3 separate regions of the Homo sapiens genome follow, and regions 2 and 3 are each linked to region 1. Evidence: promoter capture Hi-C in human tissues and cell types (Jung and others, 2019). All regions are on one chromosome and are shown on one strand. The core of a region is centred on a gene start or on the middle of the fragment in contact, and the rest is flanking DNA. Distances in the headings are between cores, read along the strand shown. Region 1 holds the start of LRRC69 (leucine rich repeat containing 69). Region 2 overlaps LINC01030 (long intergenic non-protein coding RNA 1030). Region 3 overlaps TMEM64 (transmembrane protein 64).

Region 1 (3,909 bases), core at 1,041-3,540:
GGAAATATATCTTGGAATGTGTAACTTTTTACTAAACAACTATTAACCAAGTGTGAGACAAGAATACAGAAATTTTCAGATATGCAAGGGATCAAACAATTTAACTACCACATACCCAGACTAGGATGATTTCTCGAGACTCCTGAAAAACTAAGAGAGCAAGCCAAGAAAGGAAAATACAGGATACAGGAAACAGTGGGTCCAATTTAAGAGAGCAACAAAGGGAATGTCCTTGGCTGACAGTATCTAGCAAACCTAGATAGCAGTCAACATAGAGTGGGGCAGAGGATGGAGGGTCTTAGAGGGAAGTCTCTCAAGGAAAAGTACATTTGACAGAAAAAAATTATACAGTTTGAAATAAAATGAGGCTACCATAAAACTAAGGCACAAGAACAAAGGAAAGGTTATTAGAAACTCCAAGGGAACAAAAATGGCATATAAGAAAGAAAATATAATCATAGATTAATTGACTCCATGTGAATATTTATTTATTAGTAATATATATTTTTAGAAGTTTAGAGTTACCCAAGACACAAAACAAATATTTAATTATGGTTATAACTGAATAGGATATAAAAGCTGTAAGTGTTATAAAAGTAAAAACTTCAGAGTTTGTGAGGGGGGAGAGGAAAGGACAGCTGAAGGTGGATTACAAAGGCTGACACTGTCATCTTACGAAGTGGGGAGTCAAAAGAGACTGCAGTTGATGAAGGAAGAAATAAAGGTGTAGTAACATTACATGTAAAAGATACCTGTAGACCTAATCCCCTGATTCCAGATGTGGATCAATACACAATAGATACATTAATATAACTGTATCTAGAAGATGAAGAAAAATGATGCCAAAAATAGACAAATCAATAAAATAGATGAGTTAAAAGTGGTTATATATGGAGATCGGGATTGAGGATGAGGGGAAGTGGGATAGAAGATAGCTTCTTGCTATAAGCTTTTTGTAATATTTAATTCTCGGTAACCAATGGTTAGTACTACTTTAATGGAAATAAATTCAAATAGAGGGAGAGAATAGGTTCATGACTCAGTCAAGTCCCAAATTCTTTTGCAAAGAAACTCCTCTTTCCTATTAAAAAATTCCAAGTCCTTGTTGTCTTGTAACTACAAGTATACCTTCTGCAATTACTAATGAAGGGGGACTTTGTAAAAGTTACCCTATTTCTTATAAAGATACAACTACAGATTACAAACTCAATTTCTTAAACGTAAAAGGAAATGAGGTAGGGTGAAAGTAAGAAAATACAGATTTATTTTTTGGAACTGTAAATTCAAAATTAATGAGCTATAACGCCTTAGCTGCTTCTAGGTTCTTCCTGTGCTGATGACAATTCAGCAGTGAACAAAAAGAAAATTACAAAGTTAATATCCCTTGCCTTCTCTCAACCTCAAGATTTTTGGCAGCTAGAGTTTCACATTGTTAGGCAGAAAGGTTTAACACAAGCATATGGGATTCATTCATGTCAACTATTCCTCTTTAAAAAAGAATATTTTTTATTTAAAATATTAAACTTCCTTTAAAGACTATTTCAGGAGAAATAAATGTCCCCTCCTTCCTATTCCCTGCCAACACTCCATTTCAAAGTTTCAGCCTGCCCTAGGAAATTGAAAAGGAACTCCCTTGCTGCATCCTAAATGTCTCTTCATTCTAAATGCAAAAGCTTCAGGACAGTCCCCAGGGTGAACAGCATCTCCTGGATCCTCAAAACTACTTCCAGATGTAAGCCCCCAAGATAGACGACCAGATCCAGGTTTCCAACCCCTTTCCAGATGACAGCCTCTAAAAAGATGAGTGTGGCAGAGACCTAGTCCCCTGACTCCAGATGTGGGCCAAAGAGCACATGAATAAATTGAAACATCTCTCCCTACCACATGGAATTCCCTAAGGGAGAAAGCCTTCTGATGCCTCTCCAGCAACACTCCACATTAAGTCTCCAGATACCTAAGTCTCCATAGATCGAAGTGTTATTGTTCTGTCTCTTACCCCTTTTTTCTCTCTTCCTGTTTTCCATCTTCAATACCAAACCACAACAGCAAAACACTGTTCCTCACCTGGGTCAAGTTGCATAACTCTGGACACACTTTGGGGATTAGGTTATTCTGAAGGACTAGAGTCTTCAGGCCAGGCAGTTTTCCTAATGCTGAGGGCATCTTTGTCATCTTCTTCCCATTCAAAGTAATGATCTTCGTATTTTTACCACCACTCAATGCTTTTATTAACAATCTCTCAGTCATGATCTTGGAAAAGAAGTAGAAAACAAGGTAACCATTAGAGTTCTTTATTATACAGCTTTAGAACCTCTAATTACAGAATTGGTGTGTCATAGAAACAAGAACATTCTGAGATCCACCATGTTGAAGGGGGGAAGCATTAGATTATTTTCCTATGTGAAAGATACGAAAGGAAAGTAGATGGTCCAGGTTTGGGGCAGGAAATGTATAATGTAAGCCTAAAATAGCTTATGCCTGCGATATTAAAGCTATCAGAGATTAATGAGGACACAGAAGTGAACTTCTAGGAGCTCCCACTAGTCTAAGATGGAAAATATTAAGGATCAGAAAGAAATAATCTAGAATAGACTGAAACATATCAAAACACATTAAAATCTGAGTTCATAATGGCATTTTTTAAAAAGAAACATTACTCACCCTGGGAATTACTAGCGCACCAACTCAGTCTGAAAATTGATAAAGGAAAAAATATAAGCATTTATTCTGCTTTTCCAGTACAAACTGCACTTAAATATAACTTAATAGTTAATAAAGTTCTTATTCACAAGAATTGAAACTAATAAATGAGAAAGACAAAATAACTAGAATAATCACAATTTTTGCAAATTCTAATAAAATAATGGAGCTATGCAAAAATCATAATTGGAGACTGAAAGTATTAGATGAAAGGTTGATGAGGAACTTTATAATCAAGTGATCAGGTTAATAACCCACTAATCATTTTAGCATCAATAAAATTGAGACAATCACATTATAAGCCTTATGAAGTAATGAATTAAAAAGTACACAGCAGCACCACCTATGAAATGTTCCTGTCCAAAAATTAAATCTGAATCTAATCATGGCTTCAAGATCTAACTACCATTTACAAAAAAACAGAACTAGAGAATAAGTTAAGTTCATTATAGGGAAACAGTCAAATCTATAACATGGAAGATTCTACAGGACTGGTCCCTGGTCCAATGTCACAAGGTTTCACCAACAAATGAAAGACATTAATAAAAAGGAGGGAAAACTGTTACGATGTAAGTGAAACTTAGGGCAAATAACAGCTAAATGCAATGTCTGGACTGTATTTGAATCCTCAGTTGAATACAAACATCTCAGGGAAATTTGTTCATCGGCTATTAGATGAGAGAAATTAATTCTGTTACATGTGAAAATGGTATGGTGGTAGTATTTATTTTAAATGTGCTTAACATTCAGAAATGCATACTGAAATTTTCAAGTGAAATAAAATGATATCTTGAGTTTTTTTAAAAATAATCTAGGGGGGAAAGTGGGTGGAAGAAACTGATCAAACAAGATTGACAAAATGTTGATAATTATTAATGCTGAGTAATAGACACATAGGGGTTTGTATTTGTCCATTCTCGCACTGCTATAAATACCTGAGACTAGGTAATTTATAAAGAAAAGAGGGTTAATTGGCTCACAGTTCTGCAGGCTATACAGGAAGCATGGTGCTGGCATCTGCTCAGCTTCTGGGGAGCCCTAAGGAAGCCTACAATAATGGTGGAAGGCAAAGGGAGAGCCAGCACTTCACATGGCCAGAGCTGGAGGAAGATAGGAAGGAGGTGCTACACACATAAACAACTAGATCTCAGGATAACTCACTCACTCACTAGCAGGAAAACAGCACTGAGAGGATGCTAATGCATTCAT
Region 2 (3,909 bases), core at 982-3,481, 500 kb after region 1:
ACGGTGGCTTACGCCTGTAATCCCAGCACTTTGGGAGCCAAGGCGGGTGGATCACCTGTCAGGAGTTTGAGACCGGCCTGGCCAACATGGTGAGACCCGGTCTCTACTAAAAATACAAAAATTATCTGGATGCAGTGGCGCGCATCTGTGGTCCCAACTACTTGGGAGGCTGAGGCTGGAGAATTGCTTGAACCCGGGAGGCAGAGGTTGCAGTGAGCCGAGATCGCGCCACTGTACTCCAGCCTCGGTGACAGAGCAAGACTCCGTCTCGAAACAAACAACAACAAAACAATTACAATTAGTCTTTTTTGAGTGTCAGTTACTCTTGACTAATAAGTTAAGAATTAGCTTGTTTAGGTGCAGCTGTTACCATTTGGTAACACTTGAGTACATTGAATTTCTTGGCTTCATACTTCTGACAAATGAGCTGATTTAATTCGAGGTCTTTTAACCTCTGGATTGATAAAGCATTTTTTTTTTATTTTACTTTAAGTTCTGGAATACATATGCAGAACATGCAGGTTTGTTACATAGGTATACATGTGCCATGGTGGTTTGCTGCACATATCAACCCTTGATAAAGCATTTTTAAATTTTGTAATCAAATTAGAACTACCTTTCTTATTATGATTTACTGTATTTCATATCACCCCTTTAGAATAAAAAAGAAAAAAGATGCCCTATTGCTTTTCTTACAGGGCTTATTATATATTTGTTTTGTATTTAAATGTCTAACTTTTAGTTGGGAATGAGTAGCCAGGACTGTGCCTTTATTGTGAGATGAGAGAGGCCAGTTGAGTCACATCACGTATTGATTTCTTTCAACTTATCCTATCAATGTAGTTTCCTTACAATAAATATTCCAAAGCATTGTTCTTGTTTTTTAATTAACAAAATGATGCAAGGATCATCTGCAATAAAATTTTGTGAAAATGGCCAGGAAAGCTTTAAAATTATAAAGAAGGACTTCCTGTACCAAAATTTAATATGTAAAGTCATGGAAATCAGAAGAAATAGACTAATGGAACCGAAGAGAAAGTCTAGAATGAGACCTAGGTGTACATAGAATATATTATATTTAAAAGGTAATATCAATAAATAGCATTTAGAAAACAATCTTTTGAAAAGTTTAAAGAAAAATCAGAGGTTTAAAACGGGAAAAATTAAATATAACATGCTACTACCAGAATGAAGGGGCATGGATAAATTTAAAATTTTTAACTTGAAAATCCAAGCCTTAATTCCACCTCCATAAAATACTTAATTTATTCTCATCTGTTATTCTATACATACTGTCTAATGCAGAAACACGTGTTTATTACATTTTATATTCCATTTTATTTAGTATTATGCTCTTTCTTAGGTCAGTGTAGTATTTTAAATTACCATTTTAATGGGTATTTTAACAGTCATCTTTTTTTGCAGGTATAGGTAATTCACAGCTAACAGTTTGCGTAAAATACTTTGGAGTTTTTTCTTTTTGTGTACAAGTATATAAAAATATGTTTGTATGCATTTGCTTCACTGACTATAATGGGATTGTGCTATATACATTATTATCTTTAGTTTTTTTTTCAGTGCACAACATATTTTGGAAACAAGATGACCTTTAAAATCACATTATTTACTGTCAACTTCAAAGAAACAAGGTCTGCTGTGATTTTATTTGGAAATCAAATTGTAAAGAAGTTTTTTGTTCTAAATTAATGTCTAGGCTATATTTATAAACCTTCCTACTTTATCTGTTTTGAAGAATGTACTGTTGCATATTATTCTAATTTCTAAAATTCAAAACCTTAATAGTGAAATCAGTAGTAGTATATTGGGTTACTCGATAATATTTACCATTTCACAGAGCAAAACAAGCCAATCTCTTTTCATTTCTTTTCCTTTCTCTGTGTAGCCTGTGCACAATTGCTTTCTCTTTTTCTGGAGTAGACCAGGGACTCCAATTAGGGTTCAGCTGAGGCAGATATATGGAAATAGAATGTTTTATGGAGCTTTAGCGATGCCTACTAAGGTACACTCAAGTTCTCTTGCTTCAACATCCTTGCCTTCTCAGAAGCATTTGTCTTGTTCTCTGTCTTGGTCATTACCATATGGCAGTACCTAGTACATACAGTGCCTGGTACCTAGTAGATATATTATACATTTGTTGACTTGTGAAATAGTAAAATTATTATTACTTTTTACAGTTCAAACGTTAATATTATTTGCTTACTTTATTGGATTTAATAAATATTTAAAAGTGTTGATATTAATCATTTTTCACTTTTAACGTGTTATGTAAATGCCAGGGTATATAATTTAATACTCACAATTATGCTATACTAAGGATGTTGCTTTTTCTGGGTTACTGAAAACAAAAACATTTAATTTCTTGTGAATTTGATAGAAACTTTCTGAATTTTTAAAGTAAATTTATTAAGGAGTGTTATTATAGAATTCAATGTAATAAATATGGTCATTAGGATTTAGAAATTAATTTTCTTGCTTGTACTTTCAGTAGTTCCAGTGTTTGTTTAAAAATCTACTTTTATGTTAGACAATTTTATATTTCACAAAAAGGAGAGGAGTTTATTTTAGATGTATAGACACAGATTTTTAGAAATGAGGAAAAAATACATCAATTACCCTGAAAATATCTCCCCTAAAACAGTATTTTAAAACTGCAAGCATTCTTTGTGGAACTAAAAATTCATATTAATTAAATGGGTTCCAAAGAATCATTATATTTATCAAGATGATTTCTAAGTATGTTTAAATGACACATAGTAATAATTCATATAGATTATATAAATGAATAAATATTGTCCCTTTGCCTTTGTAATAAGAGATATTTTTGTCCTCTGATGATAGAAATAATTTAGTAGAAAGAACATTATGTGATTGGCTTGACACTACTCAATTAAAAATAAATGCTTGATTTTCCTAAACTTAAAAATACCTTTTTCTAATTAGCATGGCTTGTTGCCTCTAAATTTTTATTAAAATTACAAAAAAATGGGTTGGGCATGGTGGCTCATGCCTGCAATCCCAGCACTTTGGAAGGCCAAGGTGGGTGGATCACCTGAGATCAGGAGTTCAAGACCAGCCTGGCTAACATGGTGAAACCCCCGTCTCTACTAAAAATACAAACATTAGCCAGGTATCATGGCGGGCAACTACAATTCCAGCTGTTCAGGAGGCTGAGGCTTCCTTGAACCCATGAGGCAGAGGTTGCAGTGAGCCAAGATCATGCCACTGCATTCCAGCCTGGGCGACAGAGCAAGACTAAGTCTCAAAAAAACAAAAACAAAAAAATAAAAATTACAAAAAATGCACTTATGTTTCCAGGAGAAATTGCTGCATAAATGAGCTGAATATTATTACCGTCATTATATATGTAACTGGGAAGGAATACTGACAATCCAGCCAATATAAAACAAAAAGTCACTGAAATGTTTGGGACTCAGTCAAAGCATATTTGGATAAATTCTATCGAGCATGTCATGTGATATCTCTTGCTTCGGATATATGAACTTATTCCTGTCACTAGAAATAATGACAATAAATGTATCCTAGTATTTTTGCCCAGGTACCTTGATAAATTGATATTGAAAATGTGTCCATCTTGAGTTTTCTTCTTAGGAAAATGCATAAAAATGCTTCTTGAGATTTATATTATTCTAGAGTAGAATTATTTTTTAATTTTATAAAGAAATTTCTTTGCAGCAAATTATCGACGTGAAAACACAGAAAACTCAAAATAATTCTCAGCAGATTTCAGATACTGATTTTATGTTCTAATTTTATCTAGTGGAAAGTAAAGTACTAATTAAATATCCTTCTATCACAGAACATACGAATTCACTAAATGATGCTAATTACACATACAAGGTAGAGATGGAAACTTTGAGAATTAAACTC
Region 3 (3,909 bases), core at 815-3,314, 470 kb after region 1:
TTGAGTATATGGTACCGTATTACAAATTTAATTTTGGTGGCATTATTCTCAAGTTTTTGAGGCCCTATCTTATTTAAAATACTATGATAAAATAAAGCCAGAGTTAATTTTCTTTGCGCTTATGAGGTACAAGTTTAGTACATAAAGTAAAACCATGAATATTTACATTGAAATATTGCCTAAATAAAGCTTATCAATAAGAGTACTTGCTTTAAGAAAAATTTTGTAATATTTTTGACATGCAAAGAGTCAGTTTTTATTTTTCTTTACTTTTTTTCCCCAGAGCTATATTTTCTTCAGATAATCTGAATCTAAGTTAAATGTTTTTGTTACAGTTGGTTTATTTATATAATACAGCATGCTAATCATATAAAGTTAAACTTTCTATGCATTATATCTATAGCACAGTATATAAATTAACATTTATGATTGTCCCAAAGAACTGTAAAATTATCTAATATGTATTGCATTCTCAGATTTTTTTAGTATGAAGTTAAGCATTTTTTTTGTAGTTTCCTGAAAATAAGTAATCTATTTGTAACATTTTTTTCCCTTTGACTTTACATTTGAGTAATTAGAATCCCTCATTGTTAGTAGCTTAGAGAGAACTTTTACTATTTGAAACTTTATATTTTTATGCATCTTAGTAAATTACTCAACTATAGTCAATGAAGTTCATGATGCTTTTTAAACTATAGAATCTTCTTTTATTCAGTGATTTCTCACCCTTTGGCTAAGCTGGAAAATTTAAGCTTAGAATACAAGACAGTGGGGAAAGCACATATTTCTTAGCCTAGGGATTTATGAAAAGAAGTGAAGACATGTTTACGCTTGTTTGATTTAATTGATATTAGTTACAGCTTAATTTGTATCAGGAGGCATTTAATGCAGCTTACAAAATATATACAAAAGGAAAAAAAGAGAGCTTAGGTTAAAGCTAGCAGAATAAGTATATTCATGAGATTCCTCTTATTTTCTAGAAACGAGCCACAAATTTGCCTCTGAGTTTTATGGCTGTCAGCCTAAAATAAAGCAATACAAAATAACTGTTCATAGGAAGCCACAACCATTTCTTGTACAGTTTGATTATCCCTTATCTGAAATGCTTGCAGCCAGAAATGTTTTAGATTTTGAATTTCCTCAGATTTCAGTATATTTACATTGTGCTTACCTGTTGAGTATCCCTAATCCAAATGTCTGGAATCTAAAGTGTTCGAATGAGCATTTTCTTTGAGTGTCTTGTTAGTGCTCAAAAACTTCGGGTTGGAGCCTTTGAGGTTTGGAATTTCTGGGTTAGGAATGCTCAAACTGTACTGAAATCCAGCTTAGATTCTGTGGTCTATTTAGTTACTCTTCCATGCCTGTTATTTTTCTATGTATCTACTAACCAAAACCCCAAACCTGAATACATCCAAGTTTTATCTGCTTTGCCCCTATTCTTTTGGGGAAGTCATGTAACCAGACACATTGATATTTAACTCATGGTTGCAAATCTTCACCTAGTTTCTCGACACTGCCCCACATCCCATCTCTCTCCTTTGTCTTCTCACTCCCCTGCTGTTGTCTTGAAATAGTTAATTATTTTAAACTATCTTCACTTCTCCTCACAATTTTGACTCCTTCGCCTGTTTCCATCTTTATTGTCAGCAGATTACCTCTCTTGCTTAACAGAAAAATCAGAAGCCTTCAACTGAGAAACCCCTGAATTTGCATATAAGAAATCTGTTAACTTCTTATGTTCCTGCCCCTGCTTAGCTTGCTTTCCAGTTAGCATTAAGAGATGCCTGTCTTTCTGTATGAGGCTTGACCTTCTGCCTGTGTTTGATTCTTTGATTTCATTTTAATAAGGAAACTTTTAAAACAATTGTCTGTACTATCTATTTCCATTTTCTAAACCCTTTTTAACACTTCACTCAGCTAAGGAAGATGGGGAAGGTGTGTTGGGGGACAGTACAAATCGTCAGGCCCTGGGATCAGAAGTGCAGCTGGGAAAGTCCCACTTAAAGATGTAACCATTTCACCCTTGCTATCTGTGGCCCTGCCACTTCCTTCCCTCAAACTGCTCTTCTTAGGGCTGTCAGTAAGCTTGTCTAAATGAGATGTACTTTCCATTTCTCATCTAGCTTGACCTGTTAGTAGTCTAAGACTCCTGACAGTGCCTTCATTATTAAAACACTCTTTCCTTAGTTTCTTTGATACCACTGTCTTAACTTTTTTTTTCCACTTGCCTAGCTTATGCTTAACTTCTTCCTTTCACCCCTTATATCTGTGTTTTTGAAGATCCTAGCTTAAGTTTTCTAGTCCTACTCTGAAAACTTTTTTACAGCAAATCCAGTTACTCTGATGGTTGCTAATATGTGTATTTGGGTCAAGACCCTCCGCCTGCCCTCATCCTACTCCCCAGCACTTGTCTTTAGCTCAGCCCTCTTTCCATAGCTTCAGACCCCTTCACTGACATCCATGAACTTTTTTGGATATCTAAGAGGCACCTCGAATTCAGCATGTCTTAAACAGAAGGTAGCATCTAATTCACAAAGCACCCGCCCCCGCCCCCATATTTTTTTCATCTCTTTACATGGTGTTTCCATTTGTTGATACATAGCAAACTTAGGAGTTTTCGGTAAATATATCTTGTTTCTTTTAAGAGAAGTAACAGAAAACAGTTACAGAATTTAAAGACCCAGCTTTAAGATGCCTAACTTATTTACGATTTTACTGAGTGATGGGTACTCATTTAATGGCACCCCCTTGTGCAAGTTCCAAGTTCCTCCCCTCTCACACTTACCATACCCCCAGTATGCTCTGCTTCTGTTATCTCCTCCCCCAACCACCCTCAGCACTTGGATTTAGAATACTTTCCCTTTAAAGCTTATGTTATAATTATGGGTAGATTTCATTGAAATTGTATTATATTTCCGTATCACTTTTGGTTACAGCAGCCTTTGTAAACTTGCTGGGACATTAAATAACACCTGCTGTGTTTGCTCCAAATCCTAAAGAACTGATTTACAAATGAACTTTGGAATAAAACTCATTTAGAAAATGTACACTGCTTAGACATTCTGAGGAGCTGTACATAGAATGCTAAAGTTGGCCGGGCACTGTGGCTCATGCCTGTAATCCCAGCACTTTGGGAGGCTGAGGCAGGCAGATCATGAGGTCAGGAGTTTGAGACCAGCCTGGCCAACATGGTAAAATCCCGTCTCTACTAAAAATACAAAAATTAGCCAGGCGTGGGGCGCATGCATGTAATCCCAGCTACTCAGGAGGCTGAGGCAGGAGAATCACTTGAACCCGGGAGGCATAAGTTGCAGTGAGCCGAGATTGTGCCACTGCACTGCAGCCTGGGCGACAGAGCGAGACTCCATCTCAAAAAAAAAAAAAAAAAAAGAAAGAAAAAAAAAGTACAGAGGGACCACAGCTTCCTATAGGACAATGAGAAACTGAAGCTTCCCTAAATCACACATCACTAGTGAATAGCTAAGCTAAGACTAGAAACCTGACTTTCAATTTGATCAGTGTGATGATTTTTCTAGTATCCCTTTGACTAACATTTTTAAATAATCATCATGTTTTCCTCTGATTTTGTTTTTTCCTAAGTACAGGCAATTACTTGTTCACAATCTCTTGTTAATTCTTTGGAAGTTTATTGGCATTTCATTTTTTTAAGTGGTCTGTAATACTTTTAATTTTGTCTTCACCAGGTAGTTCATTGCAAATAGTAGTGCTTCTCACTAAGTGGGCTTAGAAATACCTATGGACATTTATAGTCATGCAAAGGTATAATACTACATTAATTATACCAACAAAGTTTAGCCAGCTGTTACCTCTATTGTAGACATTTTTTATTCCTTGAAGAAAGCTTTTTGGTACAAAGAGACAGGTTTGGCTTGTATCAAGTGAACCAAA

Evidence for each region. The method cuts DNA at HindIII sites, captures the fragments that hold promoters and counts their contacts. A contact is called where the count stands out against the background at its distance.
Region 2: a fragment that was not itself captured here is called in contact with the fragment with the promoter of LRRC69 in region 1 in 2 of the 25 tissues and cell types used here (dorsolateral prefrontal cortex and lymphoblastoid cells).
Region 3: a fragment that was not itself captured here is called in contact with the fragment with the promoter of LRRC69 in region 1 in 2 of the 25 tissues and cell types used here (aorta and spleen).

What each region holds. Positions count from the first base shown.
Region 1 is chr8:91,101,000-91,104,908 of GRCh38, reverse strand. LRRC69 (leucine rich repeat containing 69) reads right to left here and starts at 2,290. Exons shown (of 8, transcript NM_001129890.2): 1 at 2,065-2,290. The coding sequence starts at 2,247. The HindIII fragment of the contact is 5,612 bases long and covers 1,312-3,909 here.
Region 2 is chr8:90,599,169-90,603,077 of GRCh38, reverse strand. All of the region lies in intron 1 of LINC01030 (long intergenic non-protein coding RNA 1030), which reads left to right. Among named protein-coding and RNA genes, the nearest start is that of LINC01030, 4.9 kb to the left of the region's middle. The HindIII fragment of the contact is 6,470 bases long and covers 1-3,909 here.
Region 3 is chr8:90,626,111-90,630,019 of GRCh38, reverse strand. All of the region lies in intron 2 of TMEM64 (transmembrane protein 64), which reads left to right. Among named protein-coding and RNA genes, the nearest start is that of TMEM64, 18 kb to the left of the region's middle. The HindIII fragment of the contact is 3,185 bases long and covers 472-3,656 here.